Regions from separate parts of the Homo sapiens genome. Here region 2 is linked to region 1. Evidence: promoter capture Hi-C in human tissues and cell types (Jung and others, 2019). All regions are on one chromosome and are shown on one strand. Each heading gives the region's core, a stretch centred on a gene start or on the middle of the fragment in contact. The rest is flanking DNA. Distances are from core to core; before and after follow the strand shown. Region 1 holds the start of SLC38A1 (solute carrier family 38 member 1). Region 2 holds the start of PCED1B (PC-esterase domain containing 1B).

Region 1 (2,778 bases), core at 1-2,500:
TATCATCTTGCTTTTCCAGTGGTGATGAAAAAGCAAAATTCACCCAAATACAATGACTACTGTCTACTTGAAACGCTCCAGGTAGTTAATTTTTGAATTATGATTCACCTTCCCTTTCCTGTTTTGATGAACCATGAACAGGAGACTGAACCTTCCCTATCAATAAAAAGCTCGCGTTTCCACCCTGCAAATTCGCGCTATGACAGTCTAATTGGCTGAGGCGCAGGTGGGATTTCCTGTCGCCATTTTAAGACACAACTCCTCTGCAAGCAAGTGCCCAGCCAGTGAAAGGGGGCTGTGTCTGAAACAAAGAGTAAGCGGGAAAAAAGGGAACCAGGCCCAGTTGCCCCTGCTCCCCTCCATGCCGCTCCCTCGTCCCCCGGACTTGGAGCGCCCCAGCTCCGTTAACCTGGACGCACCAGGTCCTTCGGTCGGGACCACGTGGGGTCTCCAGGCCCTCCAAGAGCTGGCCCCCGGCTCTTTGCGCCTAGGCCGGTGCTTTCTCGGTGCTCAGCAAATCCTTCTGGTTCACCTCACACCCAGTCCCCAAAGCAGAGCTCCACAGGGCAGATCTCAGGAAGGGCTGACCAGGTCTGCGGGTGCTGGATCCGGAAGAGGGGAGGTGCCTCCCGCTTCAGGTTAGGGACAAAGGGTTTTTAAAGGTGCCCGAGCTCCCCGCCGCCCCTGCCACTTCGGTCCCCTTCCCGCCAACCCGGGCCATCTGCAGGCTGTGCCCAGGGCCAGCCCTCCGCTCCAACGCTGCCCGTAGTCCCAGGCGCTGCCCGCGGCTCTCCGGGCTGCGCTCGGACCTGCCACTCCCGCGGCCATCCTCATGCTGCGCCCTTCCCACAATGCAACTCCCTCGCTCCTTCGGCCCCGGCGGGGCTCTGGCGTACCCAAAATGCAGGCCCCAGCGGAACGCACAGCCCTCCTGTCCTCCGCCGGTGCCCCTTTAGCCGCCCCACCCCCATCCCTAAGGGCTCTCATTCTCCAGCTGCAGCCGCAGCTGGGTTCCGAACACGCCGCCGGGCCCCGGGAGGGAGAGGGGCAGGTGCCAGGGCGGCGCGCAGCCTCTGCTCCCGGTGCCAGCTTCAGTGCGCCGGGCACACGCGCGCCCCGCAACCCCTCCCTCACCCTTTCCCCGTTGCTCAATCTCCGCCAGCCGCGGTCGCTGCATCGTCAGAGAGCTGCAAGAGGGAGGCAGCAAGGTGCGGCCGCCAGCAGTGACACCATGTGACCGGCACGGCTCACTGACACGCAGCTTTGGTTAAAGAGCGGGCGCACAGGAGGGGAGGAGACCGCGCGCGGGACGGGGAGGAATGGCCTGTCCGCGTTAAACCATCACAAGCCATGGTTGCGGAAGGGCCACGCGTCCCCCAGTAGGAGAATGACTCCGATTCGTGACCCTCAGCGCCGGTGCATGTCGATGTAAGTGCGAGGCCGGCGAGCAGAGTGTGAGTGGGGGTTGGTGGTGAGGGGAGATTCTGATGCAATCGGCCCGGAAAGGAGGAGAGCCAGGCGAGCGCGGACTGGGGCGGCCACGCCACTCCGCCAGAAGGTCGCCAGGAGCCTCCGCCCTTCACCTTCCTCCGAAATCCGCCAGGCCACGCCAAGCTCCCTGCCCAACCCTTACTGACGGGGGCCACATTTTCCCGGCCTCCGCAGCCAGACCTTGACACAAAGGACATCAAACTGCCGAGGGTAAAAACCCCGGAAGGGCGGACACCTCCACATCGCCTTTTGCCACCTTTCCCTTTATTTCCGGAGGTAAGGTGATTATCCGTTCCCGGGGAGGGCTGGGCGAGCGGCAAGGGGAGATTTAGATGTCGGAGGAGGAGGTAACGTAGAAATCATCTCTGCGGGCGTGAAAGCAGAGAGAGCTCGGCTGTGCCCGATGCTTTCGGATGTTGCTTTTAGGAGAGGAAAAGTCCAGGTCTCCTGTGCTTCCCGAACGCACGCGGCAGCGGGAGGAAGCGCCAGGGCCCCCGAGTTCACCTTTGCGTGGGCTGTGGCTTACTTTTTGGTTTGTTTTCCTGTGACTTTGGTGTGTTTTCCTGTGGCTGTGGCAGAGTGTGGTACCAGATCTGGTTCCATTTTTACGAGAGCCAGGAACCACGCACGTCTGGAGGGAGAGCGCAGCTGACCCGAGGGCGCGACCGTGTTCTGGGAGTGTTTGAATCCCCGGCCTTTGGTGAAAATTTCCTGTGTCCGCAAGGCCCAGAGGAGATCGTGTGATGTCCGGGGGGTGCTGCGTGCGGCCGGCTGGGTAGCGGCCGCGGACCACCACTAAACCGGGGCATGTTTGCCGTCCTTCCTGGTGCTCTGCCCCTCTGTAACGCGGGGAAGTAGGAGGGCGCGGGGAGAAATTACTAAAGGATGCTTGCAGTGACTCACTGTCCTTTCCTGCCCTGAAGAGGATTTTCTAAAATGCAGAGGGTGGCAGGGGACAGAGGTAGTGTTTTTTCGAGAGCCGGGATGTGCTGGAGCCAGCGAACAAAAGGCCACCTCTTGCGCGGTCTTGGGCGCAGACTGCTCTCGCTTCCAGTCCCACCTCCTCCCCAACCCCCGGCACCTAGTTCGCGTCCCTAAACGTTGCCGCAGAGGCCTTTAAACGCGTGGGTCGGTGCCGGGAGGAGAGCGCATCTTCGCCCTTGTGCGAGCCCCTTGCCCCCTAAATTATCCACCTCCTGGCGCATGGGGCTCCCCAGCACCCACTGGGACCCAGTAGGTTACCCGGCTGCCTGGGCACCGTTTGCCTGCCAAATCGCCCGCCTGAGG
Region 2 (2,778 bases), core at 100-2,599, 810 kb before region 1:
CCGCGGCATCTCCGGAAGGGATGAAGAGCCTCCGCGCACACGCCCCTTACTTCCCTGTCCCGCACGCGCCACGAGCACGCTTGCAAAAGACGGGGAGGTGGCGGGGACAGAGACAGAGGAAATGAGAGAGAGAGAACGAAAGAGAAAGGAGAGAGAGGGAGAGAGAGAGGGAGAGAGAAGAGGGGAAGGAGAAGAGAGAAAAAAGAAAAAAAGGTCTGCTCTGGGATTATTATTATTATTTGGGTTAATACTCTTATCTTTGCATTCCAGCCGGAAGGTCGGCTCCAAGCCTTCTTTCCTGCCCTCCTCCTTCTTGAATTGGACACCATCCCTGTTGCCGCCTCCTGAGTCAGGAAAGGGATAGAACTTTCCCAGGGAGGTGAGGGGTGTCCCCGTGGCGATTTCCCGGTTACTTCCTCCCAGCAGATATCCCTGTGGAGAGGAAACGTTCCCGACTTCCCTCCCCGCGACCTCCTCCCTAGAAACGAGCGGAGACGTCAGGCTGCTTCTGGGTTTATTTTGTAAACCCAGACAGTCAACTGCACTTGGCGCAGGCAAAGCCTCCTTGGCCCTTGCCCCAAAGCAAAGCTCTAAGAGGTCCGGGGATTCCTTGGCCTGGGTGGGGAGAGAGACGTGACCTGTGCGGCCGCCGCGAAGTGGGTCTCCAAGGGTGAGACCCCTCCCTCGGTGGCTGGGCGTGTCCCCTTTAGCCTTCCTGGACCCCATTACCGCCCGGCTTGGAGCTGGACGAAGGGACGTAATTGGTAGGCGAGTGGGTTGGGCATCTTGACTCAAGGACCAGAGTCTGGGCCTCTGGTGTGGACCCCTGCCCCCTCCCCGCTCTGCGCGGCCGTTCTAGAGGTCCGGGTGGGAGCTGGAGGAGGAAAGCGGGAGGAGGCGGCGAGGCCGCGGGGCGGTATGAGGGGGCGCCGGCCGCCTCTCGGATTGGCTGCGCCGCCGCCCCCTCCGCATCGCGCGCCCCCCACCACGCGCCCAGCCTGCTCCCTCCCGCAGGCTCCGAGCTGCTGCCCGCAGGAGGCAGGACGCGCAGGGGTGGGACCGGCGCCCCAGCCCGTCTCCCGGCCCCGGGCGCGCGGGAACCCCGGGTCCTGCAGCCTCCCGAGTGCGGAGAGGCGGGGCCGCCCGCTGCCGCCCGGCTGCCTGCGCCCCCTCCCGCGGCCCCGGCTCTGGGAGCGGGGCGCCCCGCGCGCGGGCACACGGCGGCCAGAGCGCCGAGGCGGTACCTTCAGCCTGCAATGAGAGGAACCCGGGAGAGCCCCCGGGAGCCAGCGAAGAGCTTGGCTGCTGCGTCCAGGGCTGCTGCTGCCGCCGCGGCTGCTTGAAACTCCTCAAAGTTGAGAGCCGGCTAGAGGGTGCCGCCCGCCGGGAGCCGGAGGGAAAGGAAGTCGGAAGGTGCAAGAGTGACAGACACGGACAGACGGACGCGCAGACCTTCGGAAGGCACTGCGTAGGCAGCCTCCCCGGAGCCCACGAGGCTCCCCAGCACCGTGAGTTTTTTCCTGGATGGGTGGTTGCTAAGTATTTCCGTTTAATTGTTTGTAGCGTACGTTTGCGTATAGTTGTGTCTGTTGGAGGGAGTTTAAAACAACAACAACAACAACAACAACGCAGGATGCACCTTAGGAAAAAATTGAGTTTCTGATGGTGGGTGAGACGGTGGGTTGTATGGAGAGAATGTGACTGTACATTTTTATAAGCAGGACTAACCCAGGAAAGAGGAAAAAATACATTTAACAGTGAAGAGGCAACACAGAGCTCCCTATTGTGAAATAAAACCCATTTCAAAAGTTATTGGAAAGAAAGTAAGGTATGGCTCTTATGGGTTAACTAGTGGTAGTCAGTTTCTGCTTTTTACTCCCTCTGAATTATTAATTGTTTGCCAGGTTCACTGGTGGGAGGCTGAGCCGGTGGAAAAGACACCGGGAAGAGACTCAGAGGCGACCATAATGTCGTTACGTGTACACACTCTGCCCACCCTGCTTGGAGCCGTCGTCAGACCGGGCTGCAGGGAGCTGCTGTGTTTGCTGATGATCACAGTGACTGTGGGCCCTGGTGCCTCTGGGGTGTGCCCCACCGCTTGCATCTGTGCCACTGACATCGTCAGCTGCACCAACAAAAACCTGTCCAAGGTGCCTGGGAACCTTTTCAGACTGATTAAGAGACTGGACCTGAGTTATAACAGAATTGGGCTTCTGGATTCTGAGTGGATTCCAGTATCGTTTGCAAAGCTGAACACCCTAATTCTTCGTCATAACAACATCACCAGCATTTCCACGGGCAGTTTTTCCACAACTCCAAATTTGAAGTGTCTTGACTTATCGTCCAATAAGCTGAAGACGGTGAAAAATGCTGTATTCCAAGAGTTGAAGGTTCTGGAAGTGCTTCTGCTTTACAACAATCACATATCCTATCTCGATCCTTCAGCGTTTGGAGGGCTCTCCCAGTTGCAGAAACTCTACTTAAGTGGAAATTTTCTCACACAGTTTCCGATGGATTTGTATGTTGGAAGGTTCAAGCTGGCAGAACTGATGTTTTTAGATGTTTCTTATAACCGAATTCCTTCCATGCCAATGCACCACATAAATTTAGTGCCAGGAAAACAGCTGAGAGGCATCTACCTTCATGGAAACCCATTTGTCTGTGACTGTTCCCTGTACTCCTTGCTGGTCTTTTGGTATCGTAGGCACTTTAGCTCAGTGATGGATTTTAAGAACGATTACACCTGTCGCCTGTGGTCTGACTCCAGGCACTCGCGTC

What was found. The method cuts DNA at HindIII sites, captures the fragments that hold promoters and counts their contacts. A contact is called where the count stands out against the background at its distance.
Region 2: a contact is called between the fragment with the promoter of PCED1B here and the fragment with the promoter of SLC38A1 in region 1, in 1 of the 25 tissues and cell types used here (mesendoderm cells).

The regions. Positions count from the first base shown.
Region 1 is chr12:46,267,515-46,270,292 of GRCh38, reverse strand. SLC38A1 (solute carrier family 38 member 1) reads left to right here and starts at 1,250. Exons shown (of 17, transcript NM_030674.4): 1 at 1,250-1,767. It overlaps LOC105378248 (a long non-coding RNA gene), which reads right to left and starts at 1,222. Exons shown (of 2, transcript XR_001749101.1): 1 at 1,135-1,222. RefSeq lists silencers at 701-800, 881-1,060 and enhancers at 1,471-1,570, 1,621-1,670, 810-1,792, 1,791-1,850, 2,776-2,778. The HindIII fragment of the contact is 6,474 bases long and covers 1-2,778 here.
Region 2 is chr12:47,078,192-47,080,969 of GRCh38, reverse strand. PCED1B (PC-esterase domain containing 1B) reads right to left here and starts at 1,349. Exons shown (of 4, transcript NM_138371.3): 1 at 1,245-1,349. AMIGO2 (adhesion molecule with Ig like domain 2) reads left to right here and starts at 1,011. Exons shown (of 3, transcript NM_001370299.1): 1 at 1,011-1,508; 2 at 1,722-1,828; 3 at 1,905-2,778. The coding sequence starts at 1,968. The HindIII fragment of the contact is 14,777 bases long and covers 1-2,778 here.